Regions from separate parts of the Homo sapiens genome. Here regions 2, 3 and 4 are each linked to region 1. Evidence: promoter capture Hi-C in 16 types of primary human blood cells and fetal thymus (Javierre and others, 2016). All regions are on one chromosome and are shown on one strand. The core of a region is centred on a gene start or on the middle of the fragment in contact, and the rest is flanking DNA. Distances in the headings are between cores, read along the strand shown. Region 1 holds the start of CSTF2 (cleavage stimulation factor subunit 2). Region 2 overlaps BTK (Bruton tyrosine kinase). Region 3 has its middle 8.2 kb from the start of TIMM8A. Region 4 holds the start of GLA (galactosidase alpha).

What was found. Contacts are between HindIII fragments. The CHiCAGO score rates a contact against its expected background, and 5 or more counts as called.
Region 2: a contact is called between a fragment that was not itself captured here and the fragment with the promoter of CSTF2 in region 1, in 1 of 17 cell types (total B cells). The highest score is 6.8, in total B cells.
Region 3: a fragment that was not itself captured here is called in contact with the fragment with the promoter of CSTF2 in region 1 in 1 of 17 cell types (naive CD4 T cells); the score reaches 5.5 in naive CD4 T cells.
Region 4: a contact is called between the fragment with the promoter of GLA here and the fragment with the promoter of CSTF2 in region 1, in 2 of 17 cell types (non-activated CD4 T cells and total CD8 T cells). The highest score is 7.9, in non-activated CD4 T cells.

Annotation. Positions count from the first base shown.
Region 1 is chrX:100,818,556-100,821,855 of GRCh38, forward strand. It overlaps CSTF2 (cleavage stimulation factor subunit 2), which reads left to right and starts at 1,836. Exons shown (of 14, transcript NM_001325.3): 1 at 1,836-1,919; 2 at 2,972-3,050. The coding sequence starts at 1,862. RefSeq lists enhancers at 1,508-1,567, 1,578-1,627, 1,908-2,067. The HindIII fragment of the contact is 13,366 bases long and covers 1-1,942 here.
Region 2 is chrX:101,365,609-101,368,601 of GRCh38, forward strand. All of the region lies in intron 5 of BTK (Bruton tyrosine kinase), which reads right to left. Among named protein-coding and RNA genes, the nearest start is that of TIMM8A, 18 kb to the left of the region's middle. The HindIII fragment of the contact is 4,043 bases long and covers 1-2,993 here.
Region 3 is chrX:101,338,842-101,342,210 of GRCh38, forward strand. It overlaps the pseudogene RPL21P132. Among named protein-coding and RNA genes, the nearest start is that of TIMM8A, 8.2 kb to the right of the region's middle. The HindIII fragment of the contact is 3,616 bases long and covers 1-3,369 here.
Region 4 is chrX:101,406,196-101,409,228 of GRCh38, forward strand. GLA (galactosidase alpha) reads right to left here and starts at 1,730. Exons shown (of 7, transcript NM_000169.3): 1 at 1,515-1,730. The coding sequence starts at 1,708. The region is part of intron 3 of RPL36A-HNRNPH2 (RPL36A-HNRNPH2 readthrough); the gene reads left to right. HNRNPH2 (heterogeneous nuclear ribonucleoprotein H2) reads left to right here and starts at 2,027. Exons shown (of 2, transcript NM_019597.5): 1 at 2,027-2,124. The HindIII fragment of the contact is 11,084 bases long and covers 1-3,033 here.

The sequences.
Region 1 (3,300 bases), core at 586-3,085:
TCCATTTATCATCTCTGGCTTCTCTTCCCCTAGCAGTAGTCATTGCAACAACTGAAAATGCCACTGTACATTTCCAAAAATGCTCCTCCACAAGGGTTGAGAACTTTGAGAACTACTTTAAGGGAAATTTCATAAGAAAGCATGCGTGTCTTAAATGCTGCCATAAAGCTACCTCAATAACTACAATGCTACTCAAATTACCTGACCCTAAGAATCGCCAGTGGCACTTGTTTAAATATAACGATTCCCAAGTTCTTTCCCTGGAGTCCCATTCCATAGGGCTGGGGTGGAGCCCCAGGAATCTATACTCTTACTCAAAGACCCCAGGTTAATCTTTTGTTTATGTAAGTTTGCCAAACACTGAGTTAGAAATATACTCAGCCGTACATGCATTTAGCAAAAGTTCACCACAACGGAACAATGACACACCAAAACTCTTTGAAACTGTGCCTTCTACAGAGCTGTAAATCTCCTTTTGGACCATTCCATTACACAAGGTGTCCTCTTGGTCACACAGTGATTGCAAATGGGACTCTAGAGTCATGGAAATGGGTATACTCTTCTCAAACTTTCCATCTTTACCAGAATTACTTCTTAAAGTGATATGCTTCATGGTGTAAACTAGCACTTATTAATTTTTTCTAAATATTTATCATATTTCATATACTTTTATTTTGGAGATGGAGTTTCGCTCTTGTTGCCCAGGCTGGAGCGCAATGGCAGATCTCGGATCACCGCAACATCCATCTCCCGGGTTCAAGCGATTCTCTGGCCTCAGCCTCCTGAGCAGCTGGGATTACAGGCATGCGCCACCACGCCCGGCTAATTTTGTATTTTTAGTAGAAAAGGGGTTCTCCATGTTGGCCAGGCTGGTCTCCAACTCCCGACCTCAGGTGATGCGCCCGCCTCGGCCTCCCAAAGTGTTGGCATTACAGGCATGAGCCACCGCGCCCGGCCCATATACTTTTAATACATGTGGAATTAATAAAAACGTCCATGCCTCCAATTCCGTGGCTATTTTACCGTCTTCCTTTTTCGGACAAGTCCCTCAAAGGTAGCGCTCTTGGCTCCTTCCTTTGCTTATCCCCTAACCCTGTCCTCCTGAGGTGCCCCCTGGATTTCCTCCAACCCCGGCAGGGTCTGCCTTTCCGGGATGATACAACGACCTGCCCTGCATGCCATATCCCAGGCGCGTGGGCACCAAAGTGTGGAAAAACCGATGAATGACGTTTTCTGTTTCCGATACTCTGCCTGCCAGAATCCCCTGCCGCACCGCCCCACCACGAAGCACATGGAACCCACGGACTACACGAGGACAGAGGTCTGTTCTCCCTTTACCTCTCCCATTTCTTTAACTATGCTTCTCTCGGCTGGCATGCCCTTTCCTCATCTCACTCCACACACGAACAGGTTTAGCAAATAATATGCACGCTGCTGGGACGGGCCCAAGCATTTCCCTCCCTTGATAGGGCGGAACTAAAATGCAAGCCCCACAGTTGTCAGCAAAGGACTTCCCTGTTACCATGGTAAAGCCGCTGCGCCTTTATTGTGGTTGAGGAGTACTTGCATCAACCTAAGAGAAAATTAATAAGAAGGAAGTCTGCAGGCTGAAACCCTTCAAATTAGCCTGGACTCGCCTGCATCTGGCTCGGAACAGAGTTAATCTCAGGAGTGAGAATATAGCCCTCCGGTGGACGCAACTCGCGCCTGCGGCTAACAGAATGTCTCCAGGGGAGGGGCTCTGCGTCCGTTCCGCCCAGGCCCTTCCGGCTCACGCGCCGTACGGAAGCGTGCTCAGCGCTGGGCTTGTGCTCCGTACGGAAGTGTGCTTTGGCGCACCGGAAGCCGACTCAACAGAGCTATGGCGGGTTTGACTGTGAGAGACCCAGCGGTGGATCGTTCTCTACGTTCTGTGTTCGGTGAGAGGAATTCGTTGTAGTCAAGCTTCGGGGAGGGACTCCCCTCTGCACCTTCTATCTCATGAATCGCTACCGGAGCCGCTGACGGTTCGGACGTGCAGTTCTCCCTGCTTATCCTGTAGGGCGTCCAACCTGGTGGACTCATGAGCAAAGAGATATTCCCATTCTGCCGAGGTCTCGTAGGCTTTCCGCAATATCAGTGGGGAAGTTAGACTAGCGTTCAGCTTCTGTGCGTTTCTCCTTTCATGAGCTTCAATTATTCTCTAGAGGAGAAGGCTCACGGTAACAGCTCCTCACTGTCCCGTACTACTTCTCATCCTCTGCCCCAGAATACAGACTATATGCTGAGGGTATAGATCCTAGTGTCCACTTACTGTCCTCTCCTAAGGACTTTCATCCTTTGCTTTTTATCTGTAACATTTTAGTGCATCAATAGTGGTAGCGGCCACCTGGTGTCCTGAGATGGCTTGTAAGTGAATGAATGAATGAACTATTAAGATCTCCTCAGAGGAATTTTAAAAAGGATCGAAACGATTCTGAATTATCTTTTTGGCTGAAATAAGTTGTTTTTAAAAATACGTGTGATTATTTTAGAGTACCATTTGAAAGGGACATGACAAAGTAGTTCAGAATACTTTTTAAACATCTTTCACTACATTCATCGTCATTCTCCCTTAAATGTTGTATGTGTGGAAATACATAGGAACCTGTTTTAAAAATTATATTAAATAACATTGATATTTTTTGTAGTCACTGATGAGACTTGCAGATCTTTAGGTAAATACCAGTGCCAAAGTATTTATTTGCACCAAAGTTAAGGAAAATCTAACACGTGTCAGATCAGTCTGAGAACTAACATTTGAGAGTACCTACACATTTTGTATTTAGTTTCAGTGGTATATTTCCTTTGTTAAGAGGTCTGAAGAAATACAATGGAATTGGGATTGGAGAACACTATTTTGAGTCTTATATTTGATGATATAAGTTTACTTTCTCACTAAAGATCTATGTTATAAACTCAGAATTTTAATGTTACCTATTTTCTTCCTTAGTGGGGAACATTCCTTATGAAGCTACTGAAGAGCAGTTGAAGGACATCTTTTCTGAGGTTGGACCTGTTGTTAGTTTCAGGTGAGATCCCCTTTTCCTTCATGGTGGGAGCTTCTTAAAAATCACCACAGATTTGGCTCTTAGTAATAATGGCAGGTTTTCTTTACTGGTGACTTTTCACATACATTTTGTTCTTGTAACAGCTTTATTGAGATATAATTGATACACTATACAATTGACATTTATTCTTACCTAAAATATGTTTTTTTCGTTAAAAATGTTTTTTAGGCAGGGCATAGTGACTCAAGCCTGTAATCCCAGCACTTTGGGA
Region 2 (2,993 bases), core at 485-2,984, 550 kb after region 1:
GCACTTGATGGGCTGGTCTTTTCTATCCATATTTATGAGGTTAATGTCTAAAATTCTGTTTCAGGCATACATGAATCATTCCTTTCCATACTGTTTGTAGGAGATTTGCCAATGCTATTCTCTTATTCATTTTGGTGAGGTCAGGTCATTTGCCTACTTTTGAATTTGCAATTAGGATAGGTTCTATTGAGCTTGACCAAAGATTCAAGAATAAGTATAGGCAAATATTTGTGGTGCTGGAACATAGAAGGGCCCACTGCCATATTTAAGGAAATGGAAAGAGAGAGTCTGTGGCTAAGCCCACAGGAATACAACCTTTGCATGGCAAGCACCATTGAGAAAATGTGGCAGCTGGATATGAGGTATCTGAGGCTATGCTTTTAAAATTGAGGTATAGGCCTGGTGCAGTGGCTCACGCCTTGGGAGGCTGAGGTGGGCAGATCACTTGAGGTCAGGCATTTGAGACCAGCCTGGCTAACATGGTGAAATCCCGTCTCTACCAAAAATACAAAAATTAGCTGGGCGTGGTGGTGAGCGCCTGTAATCCCAGCTACTTGGGAGGCTGAGGCAGGAGAATCGCTTGAACGCAGGAGGCAGAGTTTGCAGTGAGCCGAGATTGTGCCACTGCACTCCAGCCTGCACGATAGAGCAAGACTCTCTCTCTCAAAATAAAAAAAAATAAATAAATAAAATTGAGGTATAATTTACATATAATAAAGTGCACAGATTTAATGTGTACAGCAAACCATATTTTTCCACACCCATTTAACCTCCTTGAGATCCAGCACCTCATGCCTCTTCAGTCAATATCCCTGCAAAGGTAACCAGTATTCTCATGAGGTCCCCTTTTCATGTCAATGATTTCTTATTGGTGCATTTTACCCAAGAGTAGGATAATAAAAACATAAAAACAAACAAGAAAAAAACAAAAAGAGTGGAATAATATCATTATTTTGTGGCTCCTAGGCTAACTCACTATTGACATTGGCAGCACCTGGGACTGTCCTGGGATTGTTAGGACTTGCACCTAAATCTCCCAGCAATCATGGTATTTGTCAGAAGGTGCCTACTTTTTGGCTCTTGTTGTTAGCCCAGGACGGTTCAACAAGACTATACCCAGGTGGAACTACTGGGAAAAAAAATGCCTTTGGTGAAACATAAGGGAAGAGAAGGCAAAGATGTGCCTAGCCACACTCCCTGATCACACTGATGACCCAGCTGAAGTGATGGTGTTTCTGTTTATTTATTTTGGCTTTATTTTTAGCCTGTTGTGAATTTACTTAGCTAATGAACCTTAAAAGCAGCACATAATCAAGATTGTAAGGTTAACATCTGAGTTAGGAAACCAAGCTCGGCTGGGCATAGTGGCTTACGCCTGTAATCTCAGCACATTGGGAGGCCGAGGCAGGTGGATCACCTGAGGTCAGGAGTTCAAGACCAGCCTGGCCAACATGATGAAACCCTGTCTCTACCAAAGATACAAAAATTAGCCGGGCATGATGGTGCACGCCTGTAGTCCCAGCTACTCGGGAGGCTGAGGGAGGAGAATTGCTTGAACCTAGGAGGCGGCGGTTGCAGTGAGCCAACATCACGTCACTCTACTCCAGCCTGGGCAACAGAGTGAGACTCCATATCAAGAAAAAAAAAAAAGAAAAAAAGAAAGCTCACAAGCTCACAAGCTGGATATCCTTATCTTCGGTCATTACTCACCCTTAAATATAGTGGACATTCAATAAATATTTGTTGGGCCAGGTGTGGTGGCTCATGCTTTAATCCCAGCAGTTTGGGAGGCAGAGGCGGGTGGATCACCTGAGGTCAGGAGTTTGAGACGAGCCTGGCCAACATGGTGAAACCCTGTCGCTACTAAAAATACAAAAATTAGCTGGGCATGGTGGCAGGCGCCTGTCATCCCAACTACTCGGGAGGCTGAGGTAGGAGAATCGCTTGAACTCGGGAGGCGGAGGTTGCAGTGAGCCGAGATCGTGCCATTGCACTCCAGCCTGGGTGACAAGAGCGAAACTCCATCTCAAAATAAATAAATAAATAAATAAATAAATAAATAAATAAATAAATAAATATTTGTTGGACTAAACTATGACTGGTTTTGAAATTAGTATATGAAGTGTAAAGAAGTTACCAACTTGAGCATGCCAGTTTCTCCCTTATTTCTCCTTCAGCTAGTCTGCCTTGCATTCCCCCATTTCCAGACTAAAACCTAGCCATTTATCGATGTGGAGCCCAAGCTGGTGATGGTTGTTTATTCCCACAGATAAATCAGTTAACACAACTACTGATCCCTTTCTGTGTGCAAGGCGCTGTATGAGGCATTGTGGAGAGAACTAAAGAAGTACAAGTATACATGTCCTGCAGAGCTCTTATCCCAGTCTCTGCAAATATTTCTGTGGCTGGAGATAGTATATTGGTTCAGGACATGGAGTCTGGGGCCTGAATTCAAAGCCTGACCCTGCCATTTACCAACCGAGGGCCTTTGGGCAAGTTACTTAACCTCTCTGTACCTCAGCTTTCTTATCTGTAAAATGGGGATGACAAGATAACTGCCTCATATGGTTAATACAAAGTTAATATATGTAAAGAACTTAAAGAAGAGCCTGTATCACAATAAGCAGTATTAAAGAGTTTGCTCATTTTGTAGCCCCAGGGCTAAAGCAGACCCCTTATCTTAAAATATGCCAAGAACTGAACTGTGTATTGCAGGATATCACCTATTTGTAATATTCAACATAGCTTTACTATAGAATATTTTGCAACCAACTACATGTGAAATTTCTGGACTTGGAAACCAAGCAGCGCAAAACTATGCAATGAGCTTGGGCTTTGGAGTCATACAGACACAGGGATGTGATAAGAATCCAGGCTCCACCATTCACTGTGTGCCCATGAGCAAGTTGCATAACATCTTTGAGCTTCAGTTTCCTCATCTGTAAATAGGGGAATAATACATACTTCTTAAGGCTACTGCAAAGATCAAATAA
Region 3 (3,369 bases), core at 420-2,919, 520 kb after region 1:
TCTCTACTAAAAAATAAAAAAATTAGCTAGGTGTGGTGGCACGCGCCTGTAGTCCCAGCAACTCGGGAGGCTGAGGCAGGAGAATGGCATGAACCAGGGAGGCGGAGGTTGCAGTGAGCCGAGATCACACCACTGCACTCCAGCCCGGGCAACTGAGCAAGACTCCATCTCAAGAAAAAGAAAAAAAAAATTTCAATAGGTTTGCTTCCACTAAAGCCAAGAAAGTAGAATTTAATAAATTCTAGTTTTGGTGTAAATAACATGTTTTAAACTTAATTGCTGTGAGTTATAATTTATCTATTTTTCAATATTTTTTCAACTCCTGTAATGTTCCGGGAAAAAGTTAACTATTCAAGAATACATAAAAGCCTGTATATGGAACTTGTATTTTGCCTTTTGCCTCAGGCTCCGATATGGTTGGTTCAGTATGGCACTGTTACTGGTCCTGTCTTTATTAAAAATATTGATATTTTGTTCATTATGGACTTTTGCATTAATTTGATTTTTAAAATATTTCATTAAAACATCTTTCCTCAGGCCAGGCGTGGTGACTCACGCCTGTAATTCCAGCACTTTGGGAGGACGAGGTGGGCGGATCACGAGGTCAGGAGATTGAGACCATCCTGGCCAACACGGTGAAACCCCGTCTCTACTAAAAAATACAAAAAAATTAGCCAGGCATGGTGGTGGGTGCCTGTAGTCCCAGCTACTCGGGAGGCTGAGGCAGGAGAATGGCGTGAACCCGGGAGGCAGAGCTTGCAGTGAGCTGAGAACGTGCCACTGCATCCCAGCCTAGGCGACAGAGCGAGACTGCGTCTCAAAAAACAAACAAAACAAAAAAAAAACCAAACAAACAAAAAATTATTCCTCTTGATAACTGAATTTTTTGGTACCCCCTTAAATTTTGCACATGAAACAAGTGCCTCATTCACCCTACCCTATTCCCAGCCCTGCTAGAGGTCCTTAGATGTAAATAACCTATTTGATATGCCAGTGTTGTGTGGGAAGTATAATTCTTTTTTTAAAAAAGAGCTTCCTTTTGGCCGGAACTGCCATCTTTCAGTAATTTGCCAAAATGACGAACACAAAGGGTAAGAGGCGAGGCACCAGATAGATGTTCTCTAGGCCTTTCAGAAAATGGCTGAGGTGGGAGGATCACTTGAGGTCAGGAGTTCGAGACCAGCCTGGCCAACATGGCAAAACCCCATCTCTACTAAAAATGCAAAAATTAGCTGGGCGTGGTGGCAGATGCCTGTAATCCCAACTACTCGGGAGGCTGAGGCAGGAGAATCACTTGAACCCAGGAGGTAGAGGTTGTAGTGAGCCAAGATCACGCCACTGCACTCCAGCCTGGGCAACAGAGCAAGACTCTGTCTCAAAAAAAAAGAAAACACAGAGTTGTTCCTTTGGCCATGTACACACAAATCTATAAGAAAGACGATATTATTAGCCGGGCGTGGTGGTGCGTGCCTGTAGTCCCAGCTACTCAGGAGGCTGAGGCAGGAGAATCACTGGAACCTGGGAGGTGGAATTTGCAGTGAGCCGAGATCTCACTACTGCACTCCAGCCTGGACAACAGAGTGAGACTCTGTCTCAAAAAAAAAAAATATATATATATATATATATATCTTTTCTATATATATAGAGAGAAAAATATGTGTTCATTATGGACTATATATATTTCTATATCTATTTATATATATATTCTATATATAGAGAAAAAATATATATATACACACACATATAGAGACATCGAGGGAATGTGTACTATTCAAAAAGGAATGTCCCATAAGTGTTACCATGGCAAAACTGTGTCTACACTGTTAACCAGCATGCTGTTGGCATTGTTGTAAACAAAGAAGCTAAGGGCAAGATTCTTGCCAAGAGAATTAATGTGCGGATTGAGTACATTAAGCACTCTAAGAGCCAAGATAGCTTCCTGAAACGCATGAGGGAAAATGATCAGAAAAAGGAAGCCAAAAAGAGAGGTACCTGGGTTCAACTCAAGTGCCAGGCTGCTCCACCCAGAGAAGTGTACTTTGTGAGAACCAATGGAAAGGAGTCTGGGCTGCTGGAACCTATCCCCTATGAATTCAAGCATAATAGGTGCAAAAACATAAAAGACCTCTGGACTGTAAAAATGTTTCTCTTCATTAAGTAGAAGTGTGCTGTCCCCTCCCCCTAATAAAAATTAAAACAAATTTTAAAAGTGTCCTAATTCATTGTGTAATGTCTTTATTATTCAAATTTAATGTATTTCTTGCTGAAAGATGTGAGGTGGCTTATTGTGCAACAAATTACTCAATTGGCTAGAAATGGCCAGATATTATTTATGAAATATTTGTACTTGTTTGAAGATAGTCAGGCCAGGCATGGTGGCTCATGCCTGTAATCCCAGTTACTCGGGAGGCTGAGGCAGGAGAATCGCATGAACCCGGGAGACAGAGGTTGCAGTGAGCCAAGATCACGCCATTGCACTCCAGCCTGGGCAACAAGAGCAAAACTCCGTCTCAAAAAAAAAAAAAGAAAAAAAGTCCATTTAAATCATCATGGAAGAAATAAAATAATTTACAAAAGTTAAAAAAAGAAAAAAGAATCTATTTGAGACTAGGGGATATCTGAAAGTACTGTAGTTGAAATATAAGTTTTTTATTCCTAAAAGTGGTTTCTATCACACATCCCCACTTTTTAGTACAGAGTTTATAGTGCTGAAATGGAGAGAAATTTTGTTATTTTTTAAAATAATATGTATTTTTCTGAATAGGTAATTCATTCACATGATTCAAAACTCAAAAGGCATAAAGAAAAGATAAATGGCAAAAAGTCTCCCACCCCTACTCCCCAACCACCCAGTTCTTTTCCCCAGAGGCAATCAATATTAACAATATCCTTCAAGAGTTAATTAATGCTTATTCAAGCAAATATGCATACATATATTTTAATCCCCCCCCCTTTTTACACAAATGGTAGTCTTTAATCTTGCTTTTTAACTTTAACAATATGTATTGGAGCTCATTCCATAACAATTTATAAAGAAGTTTGTGATGGTTAATAATGAGTGTCAACCTGATTGGATTGAAGGATACAAAGTATTGATCCTGGGTGTGTCTGTGAGGGTGTTGAGTCAGTGGGCTGCTATTCCTTGAAAATGGCAAGTGAGTCATGGCAGTACTCGGGAAAAGTACATACTACATGGAAATGACTGCACTCCAGCCTTGGAAACAGAGCGAGATCTCATCTTAAAAAAAAAAAAAGGTATTACAATGGGGAAAAATTGGTTTTTAAGAAAAGGACCATCGATTGTTTTCCATTATTCCATGTAAAGACTATTTTACATGGAGTTCATTGATTTGTTAACTTTAGAATTCA
Region 4 (3,033 bases), core at 480-2,979, 590 kb after region 1:
AGCGAGACCCCGTCTCAAAAAAAAAAAAAAAAAAAAAGTGTAATTTACCCAATGTCACAGGGCTAAGTAACAATGAGGCAGAATTTGAGCCCAGACTGGGTGCCAGGGTCTTGCCATTAGCCAAACATGACATAAACATGATCCATTTTTTATGGAAAATAATGAAATAAAGAAATCTATGTTTTCATTTATATAGAAAACAATTGTAAGGTTGTATATTAACATTTAAACCATGATTATTTCTGGGTGGTGGAACGGTGGGGGGAAATCTTTATTTTCATTTTGCTCTTCTTTATCTACATTTTTTGCAATGATCATGCATTAGTTTTATAATCAGATGCAAATACCAATAAAAAAAAATCCGTGATGGGCAAAATTGCCACACATACTGTACCACAGGGTCACATGAAACTTACAAGGCCAATTTCTTCTGTGATGTCTGACCAACATCCTGACTTTATCTATAAAGATATTCATAGGAATAACTTATGGACACAGAAATGTACTGTGACTGCCACCTTTTACCAACATCTATCAGTGATTCCTAACCTTTTTTAAATCACAGAGCCCTTTGAGAATTTGAAGAAAGGTAAATATCCTCTCTCCAGAAAAATACACATATTCATTCAGATTTGTAGATTTACATTCATTTTCCCATTGAACATTTGCTCTGTAAGCGCAGTTGAATGGTCAAGCGCTGTGCTATGTACTTTAAATAGGTTATCTCCTTGAAAACTCACCTGTGTGAGATAAGAACTATTTTTCAGATTTTTTTTGTCAGCTCCCTGAAATTAAAAGGTTGTAATCCCAATTTACAGATAAGGATTGTGAGGGTCAGATATGTTCAATACCTATCTAATCCAGCCTCAACCCTCACGCAAAGGTGTAAATGTATAAAGTTCCTCCATGTCAACCTTCCAGCCTGATGCCACGCTCATGGGCGAGGTGGGAGAGATCTCAGCGACCTTATGGTCTCTCTAACTCCCTCGAGATACTGCCGAGAAATCCACGACCCCAAAAGGAGAAAAAATGGCACGAATCTTAGTTCCCCATTCCTCCTACCCACCCTAGATGTTCTAACGGTTAGCACCCGGCAGAGGAAGAGCAGAAGTTCACAAGAAGGGTCTGAATAGAACCGGGCAGGGCTACTTTGGGCACACTGCCTATGGGGTGGCCCTGCTCTGCAAGGAGCAGTGAAAAAAGAGAACCGGGCAGGGAGAGAGAGAAAGAGAGAGGAAAGAAGAGAAAGAGAAAGAGAAGGAGAACGAGAGAGAGAGAGAGAGAGAAAGAAACAGGGGCCGCTGGCCGGACTCCCATCCCAGGAAAGGTCACACAGAGAAAGTTTAGGGCTAGTCCTGATTCGGGACAGTTTGCTGGGGATAAAAAAGCAGCAGCAGAGTCGGGTGGGGGAGCTCTCCCTCGGGCTCAACTGTTCCCGTTGAGACTCTCCAGTTCCCCAAACACACCCAAACACATGGAAAAGCAAAGGGAAGGGAGTACCCAATATCTGATACCTGATGCAGGAATCTGGCTCTTCCTGGCAGTCAAGGTTGCACATGAAGCGCTCCCAGTGCAGCCAGCCCATGGTAGGCGTCCTTGCCAATCCATTGTCCAGTGCTCTAGCCCCAGGGATGTCCCAGGAAACGAGGGCCAGGAAGCGAAGCGCAAGCGCGCAGCCCAGATGTAGTTCTGGGTTCCTCAGCTGCATTGTCACGGTGACCGGACAGCATAAATTTCCGCGGGTAACCTGGGCTTTTAAGATTAACCTCAGGGGCGGACCAATCACCGATGACTTATTAAATAATGACGTTATTGTTTCTCTGGCAACTGGGACGGTTATCCCCAGAGGTAGACCAATAATCAGTCACGTAAGACGTTCCGCTAACCAATCACCCTCTTCCTTTCTTGATATTGACCCGCCCTATTTCCATACCAGAAGGAAGTGCGGCACCTTAGTGATCCCGAGTTTAAGCCGAGAGTTGCTCACGTGACCGAGATCTCACATGACGTAGGCGCTCACGTGATTACTCGCTTACGTGAGCAGAAGTAGTTCTGGTCGTCGTCTACCGTCTCGCTATAGCCGTTTGAGGGAAGAAGGAGGAAAATTACCCGGTATCGTTAGAGGTTGGTGTGTGGGTGGGAACTGGGGACCCAGGGGTGGTGATGATGAAGACCAGAGCGGGGTTCGGGGGCCGCCTCCGCCTCTTTCGTTCTCTGCTTTCCCCTCCCCCCTCGCGCTCTCTCCCTCCTCCCCCCCATCTCAGTGCCGGGAAGCCGCCTGTGCTGCGCCTGGTGGGGAAATGGTGGACGCTCATGACTGTGTATGTGTTTTTGTATATCTGTCTGTCTGGGCCGGTCTCGGGGGACCCCTAAGGGTGACCGTAAGGCGAAAAACGTTTGAAAACCACGGCCCTGAGTTAAGAAAAACAGATACTGAAAATAGTGGTCTGAGTGCTGGTCTATCCATTCAGGCACTCAGTCTCCACTGCCTGATTGTCTGTAAGGGGAGGCCCCAAGTGAATTTTATCTGTAGAGTCACATCTAGGCAAATGCGTGCTTGACAAAGGCGCCCAATAAATTACTTTACTGAATAGAGTATTTGAATAATGTTTATTTTTCTGCTGATAACAACAATCTACATATTCAATTTCGAACATTTGAAAAATAACAATATAGTATAAAATTTAAAAATACACATAATTCACCACCCGGAGACGACTGCTCAACCTGATGTCGTTACAGTTTTTTAAAAAATGTGTATAACACACATATAAATACACAAATTCTTAACTCACAAAGAGTCCTGGTTCCCACTTTAGCCAGCAGTCCTGATGGCCTTCCCAGGAGACGCAGTAATGAAGTAGAACCTCTCTGCCCCTACAGAAGGGCTCTTAAGGAATAGAGCGGTGCAGGGAATTAAATGGGACGGGTTATCCCAGGGATAAGGCAAGCAAAAAAAAAAAAAAAAATCCTGCAAAATGAAATAAAAAAACAGCTTGTAAATCTGTCACTGAGACCTTAGGATGGTTAATA